2 separate regions of the Homo sapiens genome follow, and region 1 is linked to region 2. The links are contacts of gene promoters, found by promoter capture Hi-C in blood cells and fetal thymus (Javierre and others, 2016). All regions are on one chromosome and are shown on one strand. Each heading gives the region's core, a stretch centred on a gene start or on the middle of the fragment in contact. The rest is flanking DNA. Distances are from core to core; before and after follow the strand shown.

Region 1 (4,975 bases), core at 561-3,060, 1.3 Mb after region 2:
ACAGCGACACAGTGAGATGGACAAGGGCTGCTCTACTGAATTTGCAAATGTGAATTTAACCCACTTATGAAAACAGTACCGGGCATGGCTATATCACTTATCAGCTCATCAAGTTTGTTCTGGAGGGGAAGCAGTTTTGTGTGGCCCCACTATCAGGCACCAGCCTCATAAAGAAGCAAGCAGCACAAATCCTAAATTCTGTGGTGTTTAATGGAGGCCATGTCAACACAACAGCGGGAAAGAGAGGGACTCTCTACCAACCGGTATACTAAGACATAATCTAGAGGCCAAAGGACTCCAGATAAATTACCCATTGCCCAAAACAAAAGGAAGTCTTTTGATAAGAGAAATATTTACACCTGGGGAGTAAGCCATGGTCCCAGGAAGAAAATGTCTTAAAATGAACTTTGCATCTATTTAGTTTTGCATTTTCAGTCCCCAAATACCCCATCACTGTTTTCCTGTTTTCTTTTTCTCTCCCATGAGCTCACTATCCCTTTGCAAATTTAGGGGAAATAGGACTGCTGTTGACTCTGCAGCTGCAAAAAAAAAAAAAAAAAAACTTGCTAAGTGGAAGAAACCATTTAAAAAGGGCCACATACTGTATGATTCCATCTACATGTTACATATTTATAGCTGTCCCTCAGTTCTTGGATTTTCTGGTCTAATTTTTTCCATCTTTTTCTTTCCAGTTTGGAAGTTTCTGTTGAGATATCCTCAAGCAATTCTTTCCTCAGCCTTATCTAGTCTACCAATGAGCCCATCAAAGACATTTGTTATTTCTGTTGAAGTGTTTTTGAAGCATTTTCTCTTGTTTCTTGGAATTCCCATCTCCTGGGTTACATTGCCTTATCTGTTCTTGCTCTCTGTCTACTTATCCAGTAGAGTCAAATATTAATCATATTTGTTTTAAATTCCTGATCTAATAATTCCAACATCTCTGCCACATGTGAGTCTGGTTCTGAGGCTTGCTCTGGCTCTTCAAACTGTGTTTTTTTCAGTTTTAGTATGCCTGGTAATATTTTTTTTTTAACTTAATTTTCTTGATAGCTGGGTATGATATACTGGGTAAAAGGAACTGCTGTAAACAGGCCTTTAATAATGTGGTGGCGAGGTGTGGGGAGGGGAAGTAATCTGTAGTCCTATAATTAGGTCTTAATTTAGTGAGCCTCTGCCTGCGAACTGTGAACTTCACAGGTGTTCTCAGCCCAGCCCCCTTTAGGCGGGACAAGATGGCTACAGTGGGCTGGAGTTGGGTGTTTCCCATCCTCTAAGTCAGTTAGGGTCTGATAAACCCCAATAGTTTATGCTCTGGTAAAACAGTTTCTCCTGAGTGCAGACCTTGTTAAGAACAGAATGTTCTGTTGTATTTTAAAATGGTTCCTTTTCCCAATCTCCTGCTGAATGAATGAGAAGATTTTTCTCTGATAGTCACTGTGAGAACCTGGTTGAGCCCCAGAAGTTAAAACTCACAGAAGTATGCAGAACCCCTATGACCCAGTCGTCCTGGAGTTTTTCACTCTGAGACTTGTCCATACTGAGCCGCCAGCAATTTGTTGGTTATAGTTCCAGTTTTAACTACTTCAGCGCTGTTCCCTGTGGAGGGTTCTTCTCCTGGTTTCAGCTTCTGTAAGTTGTGATTCTCCGTGTCTACCTGTCTGCCTCTACAATTTAGAGGACAGCAGTTTGCCCTGTGATCTCAATTCTCTGATGGATCTAAAGAGTTGTGGATGTTTCCGTTTGTTCAGCTTTTTATTCCTTAGGATGGAGTGGTGACTTCCAAACTCCTTACATGCCTAACCAGAAACTGTAAGTCCCAATTCCATCTCTAAGAAATGTCCAGAATAGGTAAATCCACAGAGACAAAAAAAAATTTGGTTGTTTAGGGCTGGAAGGATAGGAGGTTGAGGGATAATAGCTAAAGGGTACAAGGTTTCTTCTGGAAGTGATAAAAATATAATAAAATTTATTATGATGATGGTTGCCCAACTTTGTGAATATAAATCCATCAAATTGTACACTTTAAATGGGTAAAATGTATGGTATGTGAATTATAATGCTGAACAAAGGAAGGAAGAAAGAAAGGAAAAGACGGAGGGAAAGGAAGAAAGAGAGATGGAAGGGAAGGAAAGAAGGGGAAGGGAAAGAGGGAGGGAAAGGAAGAAAGAGAGAAGGAAGGGAAGGGAAGAAGGGGTAGGGAAGGGGAAGGAAAAGGAAGGGAAGAGGAGGAGAGGCGAGAGGAGGGAAAGGGGAGGGAGGGGAAGGGAGGGTAACGGAAGGGAAGGGGAGAGGAGGGGAAAGGGAGGGGAAGGGAAGGGAGGGGAAGGGATGGAAAGGGAGGAAAGGGAGGAAAGGGGAAGGAAGTGAAGGGGAGAGGAGGGGAAAGGGAGGGGAAGGGAAGGGAGGGGAAGGGAAGGGAGGGGAAGGGAGGGGAAGGGAGGGAAGGGGAGGAAAGGGGAAGGAAGTGAAGGGGAGGGAAGGGGAGGGAAGTGAAGGGGAGGGAAGGGAAAGGGAAGGGAGGGAAGAGGAAAGAAGGGGAGAGGAGGGGAGGGGAGGGGAAAGGAAATGGGGAAGCAAAGCACCATAGCCCAAAGATAGAAGGAGTGGTATACAGTTGTGTCTGCATGGCCTGAAGTCTCTGAGCCTCTTCAGGATCTTCAGCCTCCTTCCCTCTAGTGTGAGATTCCACCACCCTCCCCCTCCCATAACATACACATACACGCACCAAAACCTTTGTTCCAGGCATCTCAAACAATTTGTATTTCCACCCAAACTCTATGCAGTTCCATTCCTCTGAGCTTTTACACAAACTCTTCTCTCTACCTTGAATGCCTACCCTACCCCATTTCCTACCAAGAGAATTCTCACTCAACTTTCAAGACCCAGTTTAAATGTCACACCCTTCAGGATGTCTATCCCTACCTCCTCAGATAGTTAGGGGGCTCCTCCTCGTCACCTGCAGAAGGCTTTACTGTACAGTATGTCACCATATGAGAAGGTAGAACATCTGTCACAATGCACTTAGGCCTATTTAGATGCATATCATCCCCAACAATACCACAGGCTCATGAAGGACAAATGCTGTATTTTATTCATCTTGGTGTTGAAAAAACTTGGAACTGTGGCTGTCGTATAAAAGATATCTAGTAAATATTTGCCAAATGAACAAATAGCAGACAGGCATCATGCCTCTGTGACACAGGTCATGGAAAGTTAACAGAAATTGTTCCTGTTTGCAGAAATATTTGCAAGTAGAAACATCAATGGTTTCACAAAATGTCTGTGTACCCAAGTTTCTGCCCCAAATCGGAAGCCATTTCAACTTGGCTCCTGCACAGGATGTGACTTCCTGCCCAGAGAGCTCCAAAGGCCCCTCGTGCTGCTTGGGCAGGATCCAAATCTCAACAGAGAATGCAACACGAAAGGCAGAGTATATATGTTACAGAGAGACAAACAGCAGATGTGCAGAGCAAGCCTTGGGGTCATGAGCAAAATAGGAAGACAGCAGTTTGCAGCATGTTTTCTAGGGATGCCAAACTCCGTAGAAACTACTGATCAGAATTGTGTTTGAAGTTAAATATGAGCATTTCCTGATGTCAAGTCTAGAAGTTTCTGTACACAAAACAAGCATCCTGCATGAAAGAGTCTGTCAACCCTAGCTCTGACCAGAAGGGACAAGGAGAGTATGAAGCACAGAAGATGATCCACCAAGCCTGGGAGAAGAGGCTAAGAAGTTGAGGAGTGCCAGTTTCTCCATGAACAGGAACAGGAGCTATTATTTATTTTTGCATATTTTTATGAATTTATGTTGAAGACAATGGGTAGAATTCCTGAATGTAGTTCCTGTCATTTGCAATAAGTCATTTTTTTGGGCCTTGTAAAGTCCAAAAGTAAAGATCTCCTCCAGGTCAGATCAAATATAGATAGAGCCTGTTGACCCCCCTGTGATGGTTAGGGCTTCTCACACTGAAAGCTGTGGGAGCTATAAAGAGAAAAAAGGCATCCCTGACCTTCAGTGTTAATGTGAATTAACCTTACTATACTGCTACTTAAAAATATACCAACATAAATCTGGGTATAAACTCTTCATGCTGACAGCTCTGATATAACTTGAAAAGTAACACAAACTCACAAATTAAATGAAAAACAAACCTTCAAAGGTCAATAAAATTCAAATCAACCACATTAAGCTAATAACACCAGTAATGTTATTTTGTTGAAACTAATTTGCAACACACATACCATGCTGACATTGTTAAGATGTTGGCATTTTTGAGTGTGGCATGCCTATGCTACCCCGTGCTGTGGGATGACTCAATTCTCCCACCACTTTCCTCAGTTTAATTTGGTGCTACACCTCCCTCCATTCATGCCAAGCTTCAAGATGTCACTTGCCCTTCATTGGAGGGAATACAACCATACATGTGAGCACTGAAATTGTACCTGCATACTAGCGATAACTTGGTCACCCCGTTGCTTCAATTATTGCATTAAATATATAATTTTAAGTCATATTTATAAGGTTAAGCTAAAATAAGATTATAAAATTTGCATCGAGATTCTGTGGATCCCAGTTTGAGAAACATGCTGTTAGACCAGCCATCACCCCTGAGAGCATTCCCCTATCTCTTTAACCAGTTTAATCAACGTTTGTGCCAAAGGAAAGAAAAACTCACCCCAGGACAATGCCAGTATTTAAAACACAGAGATAGATACTTTCACAACGGGTTGTCCTCTGTAAGTCATAGATGGAGGGAAGAATTCCCAGGAAGGCGAAGGTCAGAAGAAGACCCAACTCCCTCCTCAATAAGCCCTCCCCAGGGCAACTGATCTTCCTGGCTTGAAACCCCCTCACCTGATCCCGCTCTGGCTGGCCATGTGTGGCTGTGTCTCCAGGAAGTCCAAGCTACCAGTTAACAAAGCTCTGTCAATCCGTGAATTGTTTTACCAAGGGCTTGTTTTGCCTTATTTTGTG
Region 2 (4,984 bases), core at 154-2,653:
AGAGACTAAAAATAAAACCATCTGGACAGTTCCAATTCACAGAGGCAGCACTTCAAAGGCAGTGATGTTGTGATAAACCATACTGTTGAGTTAAAGTTCATTCCATTGGCTAGAAAGAGAGGCTCATGACACTTGCTTAATAAATGTTTCCCGGATACTCACTGCAGTCCCTGAACCAAAGACCAGGAATAAAAGCTACCTATCTGTTCCTGCATAGAGCACATATCAACATCAGGGATGAGAGGTACTATGGTCACTCACCTCCTCACTCTCTCAGCTCCACTCCTCTGGTTGTAAGAGGCTAGTTTATCTGCGAGTCTTGCTGGGACGTAGGCTTGCTCCTACCTAGAGGCAGAATTTGAACCTTCTACCCCATATCACATTTCTTGTTGACCCTTACCTGTTAGTGTCTGATACAGTAATTCCGTTTAGGACACCAAGTTTTGTTTTTCTGTTTTGTTTTGTTTTGAGACAGTCTCGCTCTGTTGCCCAGGCTGGAGTGCAATGGCGCAATTTCCGCTCACTGCAACCTCCGCCTCCCGGGTTCAAGCGATTCTCCTACCTCAGCCTCCCAGGTAGCTGGGACTACAGGCACGTGCCATCACACCCAGCTTATTTTTTATTTTTAGTAAAGACTGGGTTTCACCATGTTGGCCAGGCTGGTTTCGAACTCCTGACCTCAGGTGATCTGCCTGCCTTGGCCTCCCAAAGTGCTGGGATAACAGGCTTGAGCCAACGCGCCTGGCCCAGCACCAAATTTTTAAAAACAGTAAGGGAAAAGTTATTTCCATACTGGTTGGAGTATGAGTTCTGGAGATACCTGGAAAATGACATCTTACTGGATGCCTAGGCAGTTCCGACACACCCATATCTTTCAATCCTGTAGCCAGTCACAAAAATCAGGAAAGTAGTATTCCTGGAAGGAACCGGGCTGGTTATTTACCAAAGGACTGCAAACTAGCCGACTCAATTTATAAGGTGCGGCATGGATACTTTCATTTAAGCAAATGAGCTTTCATTCAGTCAAAATCCCTGTTGTTGGGCCCCTGTGGTTTTAAACTCCAAGGACCAAGGTGCTTGTGAGTGAGTATGTTTGGGGCCCGGGCTCCCGCCCCGAAGCCAGGTTGTTAAAATACTCACCGCCTCTGGCCCGCGTGCACGACGCTCTCCCGCGAAGGGCCCTTAGGGGCTGCCTCCAAACCCTCTCTCTGGTCTTCCACGGGGCTCAGCTCCCCTTGCCGCCCAGAAGGGTCCTGGGGATCCCGGGTCGGGCGGGAGGCAGGGGAGGCGCCGAGCCCGGAGTTCACCACTCTATTGCGGGTGTTCATGGTTCACAGCCCGCGGGTCCCGGGCCGCCGTCGCTGCGGGAGGGATGCGGCTGGGACGCTTAGCGAGTCTCAAGATGGGATTCCAAAGTGCAGAGGCAGCGGTTTTAACAGCTGAGTTTCGGTTTCTCAGAATCAGCAGCAGACTGCGCCCGCCCCAGAGAACTTCCCCACGTATTCTCCACTGAGGCCCCGTCCGACCTTATCGCGGGTTAACAGCCCAGGATGTTGACTTGAGCTGGCTTGGTCGGCTACAGGTGAGACGGTTTAAAGTCTCACAATCACCTTAGAGGTTAATCAGAATAACTGGGATCAGCCACGGACACCTGGTGAGCGATTAGCCCGCAGAGTGACTACAATCCTGAAAGATACTTGAGAAACTGTTTAACAGGCAACTCTAATTTGAGGTTACCGCTGGATATTTGAGACTGTAAAAAATATATTAACCTTAAAATACCAGAGATTAGGTCAATAACTAAAATCATCTCAACAAAATGTCGCCTTTTATCAGTAATGACTGCTGTGTGGCTGTTACCAATGCACATACTTTCAAGTTAGAGGAAATGGAAACTGAAATCAAAAGAAAACAAAAACCTACAAAGCCGGAGAAGTAAGCTAAGGTAGACATGATTCTCCAGGCAGCCTTGCTAAGTAATTGACTAGACATTCGAGAACTATTAAAAATACCTGCTCTGTGCAGAACAGTGTGCAACGGTGATGTGGGGACATTTTAAAATATGGATGTGTAAGGCTCAGTTCCTGTAGGTTCAGGGGTGAGCTCTGGCATTCATATTTTTGAAAAGCTCCCAGATGATTCTGATGTGTGCCAGGGTTGGTCACCAGGGTCACAATGCCGTCTACACAAAGATGAGTGAAGGCTCTTCCCTCATGCTACCTGCATTCTAGGAGTATCCTAGTAGACAGGTAAACAAATGGGAATGCCACTTTGGGATAAATGAAATGACAGGCAGCTGTGGAGGCACAGAGAAACTGGGGATTAGCCCTCTGAGTAATTCAGGAACAGGGACATTTGAGAATGAGCCACCAAAGACATAGGAATTCACCAAGAAGAAGGAGATGCTATGGCAGAGGCTTGTCACTTAAAATGACATGGTGTGTACTTAATTCCAGGGGTTGTCATGTGGCTGGAGCACCCCAGTCCTAGGTCAGCAAGACAGTTAGGAGCTGGACTGTCTTCCTTATATTATTGGTGCTTAGAACAAAAAGACACATACAGGTTTGATAGCTAATGAAAGAATGAAATTGAAGGGTGGGCCAGGGTGGGACAGGAGAGGAGAAAATAATGACAAGGAACATGGTAGGAAAGTCAGTCAGGATTTCTATGCCATCCTAAGACATTAGGGTTTTGTAGAGTAGGCCAGAGTTTCACAAATTTCAGTAAGCATCAGAACCACTTGGAGGAGGGTGCGTTAAAACAGATTTATGGCCAGGCACGGTGGCTCACTCCTGTAATTCCAGTACTTTTGGAGGCCGAGGCAGGAGGATTACCTGGAGATCAGGAGTTGAAGACCAGCCTAGCCAACGTGGCGAAACCCCACCTCCACCTGGGCGACAGAGAGAGACTCCATCTCAAAAATATATATATATAGTTTCTGATTCAGGTCTGGGATGGGGCCCAAGGATTTGCATTTCTAACAAATTTCCAGGTGATACCAATGATGCCAGTCTCAGGATCACCCTTTGGGAACCACTGTTGTAGGCAATGTGGAAGGCACAGGAAGTTTTTCAATAGGGCAGTTACTCAATAATATCTGTTTTACAAAGTTAGCTTCTAACAATGTGAAAACGGAGATTGAAAGATGAAGAGACTGAAATCGGGAAGATAAATTCAGAGCCTAGTTACGTCTAGGTAAGAAATACAGATCTGAGCTAAGGCAACCCAGAAAGTGGGGAGCAAAATCAAGACATTTCACATGGGCCAGGCTCAGTTGCTCATGCCTGTAATCCCAGCACTTTTGGAGGCTGAGGCAGGAGGATCACCTGAGGCCAGGAGTTTAAGGCCAGCCTGGGCAGCATGGTAAGACCTCATCTCTACAAAACAAATAAATAAAACATAAAAGACATTTCACATGAGAGATTAGCATAGATAAAAACTAGATGAAAGAGAGAATTGAGTACTGGAAGGCAGCAGAGAGAAGGGGAGATGGCTTTTATAGTGCTTTGAGACCAGCTTTGCCACATACTGGCCACACAACCAAGGCCAAATCTCTTAATTCCTCAGAGATCCAGTTTCCTCCTCTGCCTCATGTGGGTATTGTGAGGAATAGAGATCATCCACATCAGTGGTTCTCAAATGGAGTTGATTTTTCCTCTAGCAGACATCTGGCAATGCCTGGACATATTTTTGATTGTGAAGCCTCAAAGTGGGTAGGTGCTGCTAGCATCTAGTGTGTAAAGGCCGGGGATGCTCCTAAACATCCTACAATGCACAGAATAGGCCCACATGACAAAGAGTTGTCCTGCCCCACGTGTCAACAGTGTTGAAGTTGAAAAATCCTGATCTTCACAGTATGCCTACCTTATAGCCCCAGTAATTTAATGGTTGCTGTCTTTATGGTGACTTTTAGCTTTGTGACTGGATACGAGGTAGAACCATTAACCTAGAGGAGGGACAAGCTTTGAGGGAAGTTCTAAAAGTCTGTTTAGGTGCTGTTGGGTGTAAGGTACCAGCGGGGTGAGAAACGCAGACCTAGAGATCAACAAAAAAGAGGAACAGCAGGGCCTTTCTGGAGGCCATCTTCCACATTGTTCTTTACTAGGAAAATACCCCTGGAACTCTTGTTTCAAAGGAGAAAATTATTTTGGTGGTTGGATGAAATTTAAAGTTTGAGGAAGGGAAAACCCACACTGGGGGAAAACTGATTCTCCTAAAGGAGCTAGTAATAGGGATGTTGGCCTCAAGAATATACTTAGTTAACCATATTTGTTTCACAACACAACCACATGTCACACCAAAGTTTCAAACCTGAGATTTCTCACTCCATTCACTTCTTGTTTTACCTGAGATTTCTCACTCCATTCACTTCTTGTTTTGCCACATTCTCAAAGTGTTTTAAAAAATGTGAATGTGAGGCTGGATGCGGTGGCTCACACCTGTAATCCCAGCACTTTGGGAGGCCGAGGCAGGCGGATCACGAGGTCAGGAGATCGAGACCATCCTGGCTAATACGGTGAAACCCTGTCTCTACTAAAAATACAAAAAATTAGCCGGGCGTGGTGGTGGGCGCCTGTAGTTCCAGCTATTCCGAAGGCTGAGGCAGGAGAATGGCGTGAACCCGGGAGGCGGAGCTTGCAGTGAGCCGAAATCATGCCACTGCACTCCGGCCTGGGTGACAGAGCGAGACTCCGTCTCAACAACAACAACAAAAAAAAGTGAATGTGATTTATTATGGCAACAGACATCTACAGGCTCCTTTTGGATGCCCGAGAATGGGCTACTTGTGTATCATCCATTCTTTCACCGTAGGTGTGTGCATTTGGGCGAAAATAAGGGCTGGCCTTTTACTGGAGTTGTTCTTGGGTGCGTTTTTCTATAGTAGTGGCTGGTGGAGAGAAGCAGAGGTGAGTGGGGAGGGTCCTGGGCCCCTATCCCTATTTAGCCAAGTACTTTAGCCCCTTATCTCTTCTACTCACTAGGC

The links. Contacts are between HindIII fragments. The CHiCAGO score rates a contact against its expected background, and 5 or more counts as called.
Region 1: a fragment that was not itself captured here is called in contact with the fragment with the promoter of EPSTI1 in region 2 in 1 of 17 cell types (naive CD4 T cells); the score reaches 5.1 in naive CD4 T cells.

What each region holds. Positions count from the first base shown.
Region 1 is chr13:44,275,049-44,280,023 of GRCh38, forward strand. No RefSeq gene overlaps it. Among named protein-coding and RNA genes, the nearest start is that of MIR8079, 81 kb to the left of the region's middle. The HindIII fragment of the contact is 5,130 bases long and covers 1-4,375 here.
Region 2 is chr13:42,990,838-42,995,821 of GRCh38, forward strand. It overlaps EPSTI1 (epithelial stromal interaction 1), which reads right to left and starts at 1,404. Exons shown (of 11, transcript NM_033255.5): 1 at 1,141-1,404. The coding sequence starts at 1,328. RefSeq lists enhancers at 1,418-1,537, 1,798-2,037. The HindIII fragment of the contact is 6,494 bases long and covers 1-3,960 here.